Linked DNA regions of Homo sapiens: region 2 is linked to region 1. The links are contacts of gene promoters, found by promoter capture Hi-C in blood cells and fetal thymus (Javierre and others, 2016). All regions are on one chromosome and are shown on one strand. Each heading gives the region's core, a stretch centred on a gene start or on the middle of the fragment in contact. The rest is flanking DNA. Distances are from core to core; before and after follow the strand shown.

Region 1 (7,724 bases), core at 3,679-6,178:
CCAGGGCCTGGAGCCCAAGCCCTGTGTTCCTGGGGAAGCTGGGGACTTGGGAAGTGATGGGTGTGTCATGTTGCGTGTGTCTGTCTGTGAGCCTTTCACACCTGTGCTGGCGCTGGAAAATTATTTGTGCTCAGCTGACATTTAACACTCCCTCCCCCGCTTCCTCCTAGCCCTGTGGGCAGGGGTTGGAAACTTAGCACTTTATATTTATACAGAACATTCAGGATATGTCAATAAAATATTGTTATATTTAAAAAACAACAACCCAGCATCTGGTCTCATCTGATACCCGGGAGCCTGCTTGGACCTCACGTTTCCTTGTGCCCTTGGGGTTTGGGAAGTGAATGGGCAGAGGGGCCAGCGGCCGGAAGGGGCAGGTCTGACCCTCCCCACAAAGGCTGCTCTCTTGGCCCCAGTTCTCCCTGGGCTGGCGTCTTTTCCCAGACAGGGACCTCGCTCCAGAGCTGAACAGGGTTGTTTCTGGGAGGCTGGGTCCCGTCCGTGACTCAGAGCCAGGCCCAGTGCTGCCCCGATCAGACCCCGCTTCCTTTTCGGAATGTGGAAGGATGCGAGTGTGTGCCTGAGGGTGTGGTCCTGTGGGGGTGGGTGGTCTTGGCCCATGCACACCTGCATGTTGCGCATGGTGTTCCTGTGGGAGCGTGTGTGCACGCCCACACAAGAGGCACTTCCCAGGCCGTGTGGGTCTCTACTTCCTCACAGCAGGCCTGCATGGCCTCCCTACTCTTCTCCCACATCCCAGGGCTGGGGCTCACAGCGTCCCCTGTTCCAGAGCTCCTTCATGTCCCCCAAAGGCATGTGGCCCTGTGTCTGGTGCAGAGGACCTGTCACCAGGGATGGGATTCATTGCTCTGCACACCCACCCAACTAGCACATCTTGGCCGAGCTTCAATTACGGGCCCAGCATAGGACTAAGGTTCAGTGGAGACCTGAGACCAGGGCCCCGCCCACGCCAGAAGCCAAGGGGTACCTGCCGACGCTGCCGGGAGGGGGTGCTGTGATCTGCCTGTGAGCAGGGGTGCTGAGGCCTTTGGAAATGGTTGTGCGGGAGCCAGTCCTGCTTCAGGCTCACTGGGACACTCGGCCATTTGGAGTGTCATCCAGCCAAGGGTTGTCTCTGCACAGTGCTACCTCTAAGGATCTGTCCGTGGTCTGTTAGGAACTGGGCTGCACAGCCGGAGGTGAGCAGCTTCATCAGTATTACAGCCGCACCCCATTGCTAGCATTACTGCCTGAGCTCCGCCTCCTATCAGATCAGCGGTGGCATTAGATTCTCATAGGAGCTTGAACCCTGTTGTGAACTGCATTGGAGGGATATAGGATGTATGCTCCTTATGAAACTCTAACTAATGCCTGATGATCTGTCACTGTCTCCCATCACTCCCAGATGGGACCGTCTAGTCTCAGGAAAACAAGCTCTGGGCTCCCACTGATTCTACATTATGGTGAGTTGTATAAAATTATTTCATTGTAGATTACAATGTAATGATAGAAATAAAGTGCACAATAAATGTAATGCACTTGAATCACCTAGAAACCATCCCCCTCACCATCCTGGGCCAGGCATGGTGGCTTATGCCTCTAATCCTAGCACTTTGGGAGGCCGAGATGGGTGGATCAACTGAGGTCAGGAGTTCGGGACCAGCCTGGCCAACATGGTGAAACCCCGCCTCTACTAAAAATACAAAAATTAGCCAGGCATGGTGGCGGGCGCCTGTTATCCCAGCTACTTGGGAGTCTGAGGCAGGAGAATTGCTTGAACCTGGGAGGTGGAGGTTGCAGTGAGCCAAGATTGCGCCATTGCACTCCAGCCTGAGCATCAAGAGTGAAACTCCATCTCAAACAGAGGAACAAACAAAAACCGGTCCCTGGTGCCACAAAGGTTGGGAACTGCTGTCTTACGGCATTCTGAATGCCTGGGAGGGTGTGCTTGTGGGGCAGGGCAGTGTAGTTTGACAGTCCGGGGGCTGGTTTTGCTTCACCTTGCTGTATACAGTTTTCTTGTCTGTAAAATGGAGTTTCATTGTTAGCCCCCACCTCTGAGGATGTAGACTTACACAAGTCAATCCATGTAGTGCCTGCTCATAGTAGGCGCTCCGAAAATGTTAGCTAACTACGGCCCTAGGAGTGAGGTTGATCTGATGTGCCGGTGTGCACATGCGAGGTGTGCATCTGGACCAGGATGGACACTCATAACGGCTGGGCCTGGGGTCCACTCAGCCTTGTGCCTGGAGCCTGGCACAGGTGGGCGCTCACTCTGTGAGGCCGAATGAAGGGTGATTCTTGTTCCCACTGCTGTCTGAGGGGTGGGGTGAGCCACTCCAGTGTGAACTGGGCAGAGCCGGGGTTGCTATTCTGCCTTCCTTAGGAGCTGAGTAGGCATCTGTTGGGACCCACTTGTACCCCCATGCCCAGCTTGGGTGGGTGGGGGACATCTGGGGCTCTAAGTCATAGGGGACTTCACACCACACAGCCTCATCTCACACACAGCTGCACTGGTGGCTGAGGCCTCTGCCCACCCCCCACCCTTGGCCCTACCCCATCCCACCCTACCCAGCCCCAATCCCCTCTCCTTCCTTCCCCGTGCTTTTTATAGCTTGTCATCTAGCAAACTGCCCTTCTCTTTCTCTCTCTTTTCCTCCTTTCCTTCTTTCCTATTTATTAAATTTTTAAACTTTTAATTGTGGTAAAAAATGCAACATAAAATTGGTCATCTTTACCATTATCAAGTGTTTAGTAAAGTGTATTCACATCGTTGTGCACAGATATCCAGAGCTTTTTCATCTTGCGAACCTGAAATCCTATACCTATTAAATGATAACTCCCCTCCCCAGTCCCCAGCCCCTTGTGAGCTCCGTTCCACTTTCCGTCCCTGTGCACTGGGCTACTCTAGACACCTCTTGGAGGTAGAAGCATGCAGGATTTGTCTTTTTGTGACTGGCTTGTTTCGCTCAGCAAAATATCCTCAGACCAACTGCATGTCCTAATAAAGACTCTGTTTCTCTCCCCAAGCAGGGTGATTATTTCTTATCATTATTTTAATTCTTTTGTTTTTTGAGACAGAGTCTCACTCTGTTGCCCAGGCTGGAGTGCAGTGGCACAATCTTGGCTCACTGCAACCTCTGCCTCCTGAGTTCAAGGGATTTCTGGCTAATTTTTGTATTTTTAGTAGAGATGGGGTTTCACCGTGTTGGCTAGGCTGGTCTCGAACTCCTGACCTCAAGTAATCTGCCTGCCTTGGCCTCCCAAAATGCTGGGATTACAGGCATGAGCCACTGCGCCCGGTCTACTTTATTTTTTTTTACTGAACATTCATCTTTTTTTTTGAGATGGAGTCTCACTCTGTCCCCCGGGCTAGAGTGCAGTGGCGCGATTTTGGCTCATTGCAAACTCCACCTCTGGGTTCAAGTGATTCACCTGCCTCAGCCTCCCGAGTAGGTGGGATTACAGGTGCCCGCCACCGTGCCCAGCTAATTTTTGTATTCTTTTAGTAGAGATGGGGTTTCACCATGGTGGCCAGTCTGGTCTTGAATTCCTGACCTCGTGATCCACCTGCCTTGGCCTCCCAAAGTGCTGGGATTATAGGCGTGAGCCACCGCGCCCTCCTGAACACTCATCTTAAGTGGTCAGCCTTGTGCATTTGTTTTTTGATGGGTCCTATTCTTTATTTTACTTATTTTTTCTAGGTTTACTGAGGCATAATCGACAAATAAAAGTAGTATATGTTTAAGTATACAACGTGATGTTTTGACATATGCATACCTTGTGAAATGATGACCACAACAAGCTAACTAGCATATCCATGGTGTGTATCCTGACATCTGTCAATACCCTGCCCTGGCAGCAGGGCGTCTGCCTCCATCATGGTCTCCCTGTGATTCTGATTCCTATCTTTGGAGAAGCTCTGGATTCCAGGCACAGTGGGAATGCTGAAAGGTCCTTGTGGACAATAGCTATTCTTCTTGGCTCTGTCGCTTCCCTTCACTGGGTGCAGGTGACTGTGGGGGTGTCCCCAAATGCTGCCCAGCGCTGACATGCTCCGCCTCTGGGATTTCAATCCAGGTGGGGCCCTGAGTGACCTGGCTCTGGGGCTCAGGGGTATGGAGGAGGGGGGATATAGGTAAGGAGTTTAAATTTCCAAATCTGTGAAATGGGAATAAATACTGACTGATCATGCCAGCTGCTGTGGGATTAGGGGGTGGACTCCCTGCGAGGCTCTGGGCATCTGGGGGTTCCACCTTTCCCACATGGCAGGCTTTCTAGGGTGCTGCACACTGTTCAGTTTGTGAAATTTCCTGGAGCCCTGTGCTTGTGATAGTGAACTTTTCTATATGTGTACTAAAATAAAAGCTTGTGAAAGTGCAGTGACCTTTTCCTCCTTCCGGAGATACACGGGGGGCGCCCCAGGGTCTCAGGCAGCTTTCCCCATGTCTAAGCACAGGCCGGGGTAGGAAAGGGGGTCTCCCTCGCTGGAGGAATAGGTCTATACCTGGGCTGGGGCCTCAGCTAGGCCTGGAGCAACTTTCTGCGATGTTTCTCTGCCCCCTGGAGGCAGGAAGGAACCTCAGAAGAGCCACACTCCCAAGCGGGCCCCTCCTGTCTTTCACCTGCTACAGCCAGGAAGGGGACTGGGCTGGGGTGGGAACCACAGGTAGGCATCGGAGGGGCTGCCAGTAGACCTGGTTTGGGTGGCGCTGCCGGTAGAGCTGGTTGGGGCGGGGCTGCAGGTGGAGCTGGTTGGGGCGGGGCTGCAGGTGGAGGTGGTTGGGGCGGGGCTGCAGGTGGAGATGGTTGGGGCGGGGCTGCAGGTGGAGGTGGTTGGGGCGGGGCTGCAGGTGGAGGCGGTTGAGGGGAGCAAGGTGGGAGGTGGAGCAGCTGCTATTTAAGAGGGGGTGGTGGTGCCGGTTCTGCAATTAGGTTACTGTGTCTTGCTGGGGCTTGGTCTTGTTTGCTGAAGGGGCAGCAGGGCTCTACCATGGAGGGTGTAGGGGGTCTCTGGCCTTGGGTGCTGGGTCTGCTCTCCTTGCCAGGTAAGCTGGCTGCCTGTCCCTCCTGCTGCTGGCTCCAGCCTGGAGAAAGCTGGGGAGAGGCTAGAAGGTTGTGGCTGGAGCCTGCAGGGATTGTAGCTGAGCTCAGTAGCTCAGAGCACAGAGCTCTCCAGGGTTATTCTAGAAGTCAGCTCCTGGGGGGCCAAGGGGAGGCCTCCTGAAGGCCCTGGAAGCAGAGGGCCTGCCTGGCAGAAGATAAGTGTTGTGCCCCAGGCCTACTTGTCTTGGGGTGGGGGTAGGCTGTAAGTCCCCACTCCAGCCTGGTCAGGCAGGGAGTCATCCAGGCTGAGCCCATTGTCCAAGAGCCTGGGCTGAGAGAGAGTCATAAGGTGGGGTCTGAGGCTGGCCCTGCCCGTCACGGGCGTCAGAACCCGAGGTCTGTCCTGCCTCCTTCCTTCCTGCCCCTCCTCTACCTCATAGGTGGGGCACATGGTCCCTTTTGGTCCCCCTAAGGGAGCTCCTTCCCTGAGGTCATCTAGACCTTGGCACCAGTTGGGGTTGAGCAGGGAGGCTGGGAAGGCTCCTTGGCTTTGTGCTGGAGCCTACTCTTCCTAGGGACTGAGTCTTACCGTCTGATCCCCCACACCCACCCCATGTCCTGCTGTCTGGTCTCACCGGTGGGTGCTCCAGGCATCTGTGTATGCCCCTGTCTGTCTGGACCAGGTGTGATCCTAGGAGCGCCCCTGGCCTCCAGCTGCGCAGGAGCCTGTGGTACCAGCTTCCCAGATGGCCTCACCCCTGAGGGAACCCAGGCCTCCGGGGACAAGGACATTCCTGCAATTAACCAAGGTGAGGGCACTACATCTTCTCACGGCCTGGAGGGGCACGACGTTATGTAGTGTGAAAACCACACCGAACACTCAGAAATGCAGAGCCTGGGAGGAAATGGACCAGCTTACTCTGGGCTCTAAGTGGTTTTTAAGAGATGGAGTGGTGTTGCTATATTGCCCCGGCTGGTCTTGAACTCCTGGCCTTAAGTGATCTTCCTGCCTCTGCCTCCCGAGCAGCTGGGACTACAGGTGTGAATGGGTGGAAATTCTATGGGCAATTGCTTAAGTCTACTCTTTCTTTTTGTATCTTTCTTAGTGGATTGTTACTTTTATAAGAAAAACCAAGCTCTTAAAGGGCCTGGGCGTGGAGCTAAGCGGTTAGTCGCAGTCTGAGATTGTCAGCCACCCTGTGCAGGACTGTCTGCAGGTGTGATTAAGAAGTCTGAAGCTCAGCTGGGTGCGGTGGCTCTCGCCTGTAGTCCCAGCACTTTGGGAGGCTGAGGCGGGCAGATCATGAGGTCAGGAGATCGAGACCATCCTGGCTAACACAGTGAAACCCCGTCCCCACCAAAAATACAAAAATTAGCCGGGCGTGGTGGCGGGCGCCTGTAGTCCCAGCTACTCAGGAGGCTGAGGCAGGAGAATGGCATGAACCTGGGAGGCGGAGCTTGCAGTGAGCTGAGATTGCGCCACTGCACTCCAGCCTGGGCGACAGAGCATCTCACAAAAAACAAAAAACAAAAGTCAGGCTCAGGGCCTTGCTGTCTGGGGATGTCAGCTGAGGAATGAGGGTGTATAAATAGCCTGAACAAAGCCAGTTGAAATGGAGACTGGAGTTCAGATGTTGGAGCAATGAGGGCTGAAGCACTCAGGGTTGAAGCAATCGGGCTGAACAGGGGACAACCTTGCCCTAAGGGTGGGTGAGATCCTACCAGATGTGGTAGCCACTGTGTGATCTGCCCCCTTCTTCCTCTGTGAGCTGACTTGGGAGCCCAGCGCCAGCTGAGCCTTGAGCCCCAGGCACCATCCCACCCCTGGATCACCGTGAGTGGTCTGCAGGTAACCAGAACCAATGGAGAAAACTCCCAAATGCTGGTGACCCCAACAACTATCCTATCACCTACGGTGAGGCTGTCTCATAAGGGCTGCCCGTGCCTTACCCAGTGCTTTCCTGGGAAGCACCTGCCCATCTCCAGCCACTGTGAATATGGCTAATGCTGCACAGCTGTCTGCCTCCCAAAACTGGCCCTTGGCCAGAAGGAGCTGCCTCAGCCAGAGATGCCCGGGGGCTACTCCCTTGTCTGCCCAAGGTGGCCTACTGTGACTTCTAAGGGACAGGAGTCTGGCTCCTGCCTAAAGGTGGTACAAGTCAGCGGTGTCATTTGTGGTCTGGAGCGCCCATGGGATCTGGCTGAGGCTGTGCCTGGGTTCTTCCCTGCCTTCTCTCCTGCTTCCCTCACTCCCCCTGTGAGTCACTTGTGGGAGACCCGGCTCAGGGAGAGATGAGAAGCAGAGGGACTAAGAGGGGAGAGGGGCTTGCGAGAGCCGGTATTTGCCTGCCTCTGATGGTGGAACAAATTTGTGGAACAAAATTGCCACCTCAAGGGGCCTGAATATAACAGATGGGTGGGGAATAGATGGGGGATGAGGTGGGCAGGAGACCCCAGGGCCTGTTCTGAGGAGTGTGGCTCAGGCTGGAAGAAGCCACTGCTTCCTGACAGCAGGGACCCGGGCTTGGGACTGGATTGCGTGGGTCATGGGCTGTGTTTGAGCAGGGGAAGGCTGCAGTCCAGCCGAGAAGCCTTGCACACTCAGGGACTGTGTGACTTCCCTGAGGCCACGCAGGCTCAGTGCTCAGGGAACCTCTAGCTCCACAGTCAGGAGAGGG
Region 2 (7,724 bases), core at 5,067-7,566, 720 kb before region 1:
GCGGGTGTTTGAGGGCCCCTATAAGGAGTACCATGAGGAAGCCCAGAAGTGGGACCGCTACACTGACCCTGTACCCAGCCCTCGGCCTGGCTCGGTGAGTGCTAGGGCAGGGATGCATCTCCCCACCCAGCTGCGGTGCCATCCCACCCTGCTGATGGCCTGCCCCCCACACCCTGCCCCCAGTGCATTAACAACTGGCATCGGCGCCACGGCTACACCAGCTCCCTGGAGCTACCCGACAACATCCTCAACTTCGTCAAGAAGCACCCGCTGATGGAGGAGCAGGTGGGGCCTCGGTGGAGCCGCCCCCTGCTCGTGAAGAAGGGCACCAACTTCACCCACCTGGTGGCCGACCGGGTTACAGGACTTGATGGAGCCACCTATACAGTGCTGTTCATTGGCACAGGTGGGTGCATGGGTATGCAGGCATGGCTGCTCAAGGCTGGGCAGAAGCCCGTGTGCCCAGGGCAGGGAGATTTGGAGCTGCCCCACGGCCTTGTGCCCTCTCATTTACACCTTCTCCTCTGCACCCCCCAGGAGACGGCTGGCTGCTCAAGGCTGTGAGCCTGGGGCCCTGGGTTCACCTGATTGAGGAGCTGCAGCTGTTTGACCAGGAGCCCATGAGAAGCCTGGTGCTATCTCAGAGCAAGGTAGTAAGTTGGGCCCTATCTGCCACTGTCCCCAGCACTATCCCATCTCACTCTCTCCATCTGGCTGCTTCTCCCAGTTGGGCCTATGTGCTTGGCCAGTGCAGAGTTAGGAACACACACACATGTGGATGCACACCTTGCCTAACTTGGGGTGGGTTCCTGGAAACGAGAATGAAAACAGAATGGAATCTGCACTGCACAGGGCCATTATATATAGCCAGGTCACGGGGCTGCGCTCCCAGCATCAAGCCTTGGCAACTGCTCCCATGTTTCTTTCAGACCCTCCAAGCTGTGCTGTGGTTCTGGCTCTGGCCTCTTCCCTGACCATGCCCCTGTGACCAGACCTCCCAGGCTGTGAGATGTTTATGATGCCCTCACCATGGTGGTTTTCCTTCCAGCCCCCATTTCCGTGACTGTTTCCCTGAAGTGCTTGCATTATACCCTTGTGCAATACTCTTTTTGGTTTTTTTTTGAGATGGAGTCTCACTCTGTCACCCAGGCTAGAGTGCAGTGACGCGATCTCAGCTCACTGCAACCTCCACCTCCCAGGTTGAAGCTATTCTTATGCCTCAGCCTCCTGAGTAGCTGGGATTACAGGTGCCTGCCACTATGCCCAGCTAAAGGTTTTTTGTTTTTGTTTTTGTTTTCTTTGAGATGGAGTCTCACTCTGTCGCCCAGGCTGGAGTGCGGTGGCATGATCTCTGCTCACTGCAACCTCCACCTCCCGGGTTCAAGCAATTCTGCCTCGGCCTCCCAAGTAACTGGGACTACAGGCACGTGCCACCATGCCCAGCTAATTTTTTTTTTTTTTTTTTTTTTTGAGATGGAGTCTCGCTCTGTCACCCAGGCTGGAGTGCAGTGGCGCAATCTCGGCTCACTGCAAGCTCTGCCTCCCAGGTTCACACCATTCTCCTGCCTCAGCCTTCCATGTAGCTGGGACTACAGGCTCCCATCACCACGCCTGGCTAATTTTTTGTATTTTTAGTAGAGACGGGGTTTCACCGTGTTAGCCAGGATGGTCTCGATCTCCTGACCTTGCGATCCGCCCGACTCAGCCTCCCAAAGTGCTGGGATTACAGGCGTGAGCCACTGCGCCTGGCCAGCCGGCTAATTTTTGTATTTTTAGTAGAGACAAGGTTTTACCATGTTGGCCAGGCTGGTCTTGAACTCCTAACCTCAAGTGATTTGCCCACCTCAGCCTCCCAAAGTGCTGGGATTCCAGGCATGACCTGCTGTTCCTAGTTGCCTTGTGCAATACTCTTGTGGCATGTTTGCTACACCTCCTGAACTTTGATTTGTTTGCCTTTTACCAGCTATTATGACTCAAAATTGTCCCCTAGAACATGGAATAATGGCAGAAAGAAAGTGTGTGGTTGAATAAACACACAGATTGGCATCCACCGTTGAAACAGGAAAACATCTTATGTTATGCTGCTGCTGTTGTGAGGGCTGATGGGCCTTGAAATGTATTTCCTGCACTATGTGTGTGTGAGTGTGTGTGATTATACTTTTTGGCCTCACAGCCCCATCATCCCTTTCTAATAACGTCACGTCGATAAGGGGCTTAGGATTGCATCTGGCCTGTGTAAGCCCTCTGAGTTCTGCGGTTCTTAGAGTTCCCTTTTCAGCACTATAGCTCTGCCTTGTTCCCTTGTTCCTCCTTCTGGCGCCCCGTGCTGTGCCCCCTGCAGGAGTCCAAGCTGTCCCCATGCTGCGTTCTGGTCCGGCCGCCCCTCCCGTGGTGTGGCCCTGGCCGACCCCCCTCCTGCGCCCCGCTTTTCTCGCAGAAGCTGCTCTTTGCCGGCTCCCGCTCTCAGCTGGTGCAGCTGCCCGTGGCCGACTGCATGAAGTATCGCTCCTGTGCAGACTGTGTCCTCGCCCGGGACCCCTATTGCGCCTGGAGCGTCAACACCAGCCGCTGTGTGGCCGTGGGTGGCCACTCTGGGTGAGTTGGGCTCTACATAGGCCAGGACCTCCAGGGACTCAGGGTGGTTGGAGCCAGGCTGCTGATGTACCCTACATCCCCTACCAGATCTCTACTGATCCAGCATGTGATGACCTCGGACACTTCAGGCATCTGCAACCTCCGTGGCAGTAAGAAAGGTGAGCTTTTTCATTCCCGTCGCATCGGGCTGAGCCCTGGACCAGAGCTGGAGTTTCTGTTCTCCTCTTCCCCAGCCCTGCTTTCCTGCACTAACATGCACTCTGTTTTCTCTGCCACTACAGTCAGGCCCACTCCCAAAAACATCACGGTGGTGGCGGGCACAGACCTGGTGCTGCCCTGCCACCTCTCCTCCAACTTGGCCCATGCCCGCTGGACCTTTGGGGGCCGGGACCTGCCTGCGGAACAGCCCGGGTCCTTCCTCTACGATGCCCGGCTCCAGGCCCTGGTTGTGATGGCTGCCCAGCCCCGCCATGCCGGGGCCTACCACTGCTTTTCAGAGGAGCAGGGGGCGCGGCTGGCTGCTGAAGGCTACCTTGTGGCTGTCGTGGCAGGCCCGTCGGTGACCTTGGAGGCCCGGGCCCCCCTGGAAAACCTGGGGCTGGTGTGGCTGGCGGTGGTGGCCCTGGGGGCTGTGTGCCTGGTGCTGCTGCTGCTGGTGCTGTCATTGCGCCGGCGGCTGCGGGAAGAGCTGGAGAAAGGGGCCAAGGCTACTGAGAGGACCTTGGTGTACCCCCTGGAGCTGCCCAAGGAGCCCACCAGTCCCCCCTTCCGGCCCTGTCCTGAACCAGATGAGAAACTTTGGGATCCTGTCGGTTACTACTATTCAGATGGCTCCCTTAAGATAGTACCTGGGCATGCCCGGTGCCAGCCCGGTGGGGGGCCCCCTTCGCCACCTCCAGGCATCCCAGGCCAGCCTCTGCCTTCTCCAACTCGGCTTCACCTGGGGGGTGGGCGGAACTCAAATGCCAATGGTTACGTGCGCTTACAACTAGGAGGGGAGGACCGGGGAGGGCTCGGGCACCCCCTGCCTGAGCTCGCGGATGAACTGAGACGCAAACTGCAGCAACGCCAGCCACTGCCCGACTCCAACCCCGAGGAGTCATCAGTATGAGGGGAACCCCCACCGCGTCGGCGGGAAGCGTGGGAGGTGTAGCTCCTACTTTTGCACAGGCACCAGCTACCTCAGGGACATGGCACGGGCACCTGCTCTGTCTGGGACAGATACTGCCCAGCACCCACCCGGCCATGAGGACCTGCTCTGCTCAGCACGGGCACTGCCACTTGGTGTGGCTCACCAGGGCACCAGCCTCGCAGAAGGCATCTTCCTCCTCTCTGTGAATCACAGACACGCGGGACCCCAGCCGCCAAAACTTTTCAAGGCAGAAGTTTCAAGATGTGTGTTTGTCTGTATTTGCACATGTGTTTGTGTGTGTGTGTATGTGTGTGTGCACGCGCGTGCGCGCTTGTGGCATAGCCTTCCTGTTTCTGTCAAGTCTTCCCTTGGCCTGGGTCCTCCTGGTGAGTCATTGGAGCTATGAAGGGGAAGGGGTCGTATCACTTTGTCTCTCCTACCCCCACTGCCCCGAGTGTCGGGCAGCGATGTACATATGGAGGTGGGGTGGACAGGGTGCTGTGCCCCTTCAGAGGGAGTGCAGGGCTTGGGGTGGGCCTAGTCCTGCTCCTAGGGCTGTGAATGTTTTCAGGGTGGGGGGAGGGAGATGGAGCCTCCTGTGTGTTTGGGGGGAAGGGTGGGTGGGGCCTCCCACTTGGCCCCGGGGTTCAGTGGTATTTTATACTTGCCTTCTTCCTGTACAGGGCTGGGAAAGGCTGTGTGAGGGGAGAGAAGGGAGAGGGTGGGCCTGCTGTGGACAATGGCATACTCTCTTCCAGCCCTAGGAGGAGGGCTCCTAACAGTGTAACTTATTGTGTCCCCGCGTATTTATTTGTTGTAAATATTTGAGTATTTTTATATTGACAAATAAAATGGAGAAAATGAAACGATTGCTCTGATGGGGCTAAGATGTTTGGGCTAAAGCCTTTCTGGGTACCAAGAGGGAAGGCTCTCTGGGTGGAGGGAGGCTGGACTGGGCCTCCCCCACAATCCCAGGGCAGCCACCACTTTTGTGGTCCCTGCCTGCCTGTGGGAGGGGACAGCCCAGCTCTAGTGTTTTCCCACAGTGGTGGCTGCGGGGCTGGGAACGAGACCATGGCCATAGCCCCTTGGGAGCCAGCCTTGGCTTCTGGCCAGAAGGAGAAGTCAGGGCACTGGGAGTCCAGGGGAGAAGCGGAGTGGTGGGGGGGGTGCCTTCCCAGAACTCAAGACGGGTAGTGGGAATGAGGGGCCAAAGGAGTGGAAGGTTGTGGAGATGAGATCATTGCTTGTGTGAGGATGGGGTTCTCAACCTGCTTAGGGGAGGAGAAACGACTTCCAGCCTTCTACCCACCAGGAATGCTAGGGTCTTCCGTGCCCCAACTAGCGGGGGAAGGAACTTACATCCAGTGTGCACCAGACCACTGTCCTGGAGAGGGACTGGCACAGAACCCAACCTGCATTCTGTCGTTCATGCACTCTTTCTAAGCCGATCAGGCGGTCTCCCCTGTACACTTGATCGTGGCTTGAGCAGGCAGCTGCCTGGGTTTTAACTGGGAATTGAGAAGGCTGGGGTCCGCTGAGGAGCACGCTGCGAAGGTGCGCGGTCCGCAGACGGCCTCCCGGTGGGTTTTGATCATGAAGACCGATTCCGTAAACTCAGCGCCCACTGTGGGGCCAGGGGGTTCTGCACAAACCAAGGCCCTGCCCCTGCCCTGAGGTGGAGCTACAGGCAGGACAAGTTGTGGCCACCTGCCCCTTGCTGGACTTGTAAGGAAGAGCAGGGTACGGGGAGGGGCGTCTCGAGGCCTTTCCAGCCGTCACTTTGCCGCTGCCCCGGGGGCGGTCGGCCTTGGTCCGGGGTGGTGCCAGGAAGAGGGGCTAAAAACCGTGGAGCGCGCCCCGGCCCGATGGCTCACGCCTGTAATCCCAGCACTTTGGGAGGCCAAGGTGAGCGGATCACGAGGTCAAGAGATCGAGACCATCCTGGCGAAACCCCGTCTCTACTAAAAAATACAAAAAATTAGCCGGGCGTGGTGGCGGGCGCCTGTAGTCCCAGCTACTCAGGAGTCTGACGCAGGAGAATCGCTTGAACCCGGGAGGCGGAGGTTGCAGTGAGCCGAGATCGCGCCACTGCACACAAGTCTGGGTGACAGCGAGACTCCGTCTCAAAAAAAAAAAAAAAAAAAAAAAAGACCGCGGAGCGCGTGGCGCCTCCCTGCCCTAGGGACTAGGGGCGGTAAAGAGAGGAGGCTGCGAGGTCGCTGGACGGCTGGGTCATGGCGAAGGTAACGGGAAAGCTCCCGACCGGACCCAGCTGCCTCATCCCCACACCCTGCAAGGCCAGGCGGCCCGGCGGCCCTCCAGCGGCGCGCGGCTCCCGGAACCCAGCGCCTCAGTCCTCGCTTGGCCTTGGACGCCCTCGCGCGGAGGCCTCGGGGCACGGCCGGGCGCAACAAGCCCCGCCCTACCGTTGCAATTGGTTCTCGAGCTAAGGCCTAGGCGTTTGATTGGTCAGCTTTGGCGAGAAGGCGGGACTAGGGCGACAGCCGCGGACGCCGAGCGGCCAGATCAGGGACGCGGGGCGGGCCCTGCGTCCGCCCCTCCCGCCGAGGCTGAGCCTGAGACCCGGGGCGGATCGACTGACGCCGGGGCCGGGATGGCGACGCCTCGGCCCTGCGCGGACGGGCCCTGCTGCTCGCATCCCAGCGCGGTGCTCGGCGTACAGCAGACGCTGGAGGAGATGGACTTCGAGAGGGGTGAGGCTGCCGCGCGGCCCTCGTGGTTCTCACCAGGCCCCGGCCCAAGGAGGAGGCGTGGGGCCAAGGAGAGGCGGATGAACGGGGCCCCGAGAGCTTGGGGCTTGGGGCTTGGGGCCTGGTGCGGGAAGGCGGGCGGGACCCACGGTTCCCGTGTACTGAGAGCCTCCCAGGGCCCCGCACGAGCTCGGCCAGGAGACACCTGTCCCGCGGGCGGCGGGGAAGCGGAAGCACTGGTTTCCGTAACCCTCCCGAGTAGCGGGGGACGACCTCCCCTGGGAGACACAAGCCTGCTCAGGTGTTTGAGAGAGGGCCCGGGGAGCAGAATCTGCACCAGGGGCATTGCACCCAACCTGAGGGGCATGGAGCTGCAGGCCTGGGGGCTGCGCGGTGAAGGAGAGCAGTGGCCTTTGTTTAGCCCCGGGTGCCAGGCAGCCTGCATGCTTTAAAGATGGCAAGAGCTTCGCACGGGCAGCCTTCGAGGCAGGGCACAGTATCTCATCTGTGGGACCCAGAGAGGTAACACGTTTGGCCCAGATTATACAGAGATTATGGTGCCAATAGGAACAGAGGAAGGCGGGAAACCAGGGTGCTTCTTGTGAGCGTTGGGAACCACTGTGCTGTGTCATCTGCCCTTGCGGATGCAGCCCTCGATTGCCACTGCTGTGTAAGCATTCTCATGGAACTCTTCCTTTACCGTGGTTCTGGCACCTGCCTACTTCCCTCCGCCCCTCCTACCGCTGTCCTCTGCACTGCTGAAGTGGTTGCCTCAGAGGGTCTTTCTGCTTCCACGCTTGCCTTCCTACAGGGTTTTCTACTCTCACATAGCAGCCAGAGCGGCTTTTTGAAAATTAGAAATCACATCATTCCCTGTTATGGCCTACAAAGCTCTGTAGACCCACCCCTGCCGGTTCTACTTCTCCTCCTCATTTTATTTCTCATGCTTTTCTTCCCCCAATCACTACGCCGCAGCCACACTGGTCTTGTTTTGGTGTCTCAAATATGCAAGACCTTTTCCTGAGTTAAGGCCGTTGGACTTGCTGTCCCATCTCCTTAGAATGAACTTCCTACAACCGTTAAGCTAGCTGATGCTTTTCTTCAGATCCCAGCTCCAATGTCATCTCCTCAGAGACCCTCCCTAAACACCCCAGTTCTCAACTGGGGGCAGTTCTGCCCTTTAAGGGACTTTGAATATCTGGAGACATTTTGGGTTGTCACAATCAGGAGGGTGCTACAGGCGTGTAGTAGGTAGAGATGAGAGATGCTGTATACATGGTACA

Evidence for each region. Contacts are between HindIII fragments. The CHiCAGO score rates a contact against its expected background, and 5 or more counts as called.
Region 2: a contact is called between the fragment with the promoter of ANKRD39 here and the fragment with the promoter of ASTL in region 1, in 3 of 17 cell types (naive CD8 T cells, monocytes and total B cells). The highest score is 5.9, in naive CD8 T cells.

Annotation. Positions count from the first base shown.
Region 1 is chr2:96,135,706-96,143,429 of GRCh38, reverse strand. ASTL (astacin like metalloendopeptidase) reads left to right here and starts at 4,928. Exons shown (of 9, transcript NM_001002036.4): 1 at 4,928-5,048; 2 at 5,730-5,855. The coding sequence starts at 4,994. DUSP2 (dual specificity phosphatase 2) reads left to right here. Exons shown (of 4, transcript NM_004418.4): 4 at 1-261. RefSeq lists enhancers at 771-840, 5,004-5,073, 7,414-7,463 and silencers at 1,891-1,940, 2,001-2,050, 4,024-4,113. The HindIII fragment of the contact is 4,955 bases long and covers 4,371-7,724 here.
Region 2 is chr2:96,856,608-96,864,331 of GRCh38, reverse strand. ANKRD39 (ankyrin repeat domain 39) reads left to right here and starts at 6,316. Exons shown (of 4, transcript NM_016466.6): 1 at 6,316-6,444. The coding sequence starts at 6,345. SEMA4C (semaphorin 4C) reads left to right here. Exons shown (of 15, transcript NM_017789.5): 10 at 1-94; 11 at 184-406; 12 at 538-650; 13 at 2,438-2,595; 14 at 2,683-2,753; 15 at 2,877-4,614. The coding sequence ends at 3,706. RefSeq lists silencers at 5,786-6,455, 6,486-6,655. The HindIII fragment of the contact is 20,079 bases long and covers 1-7,724 here.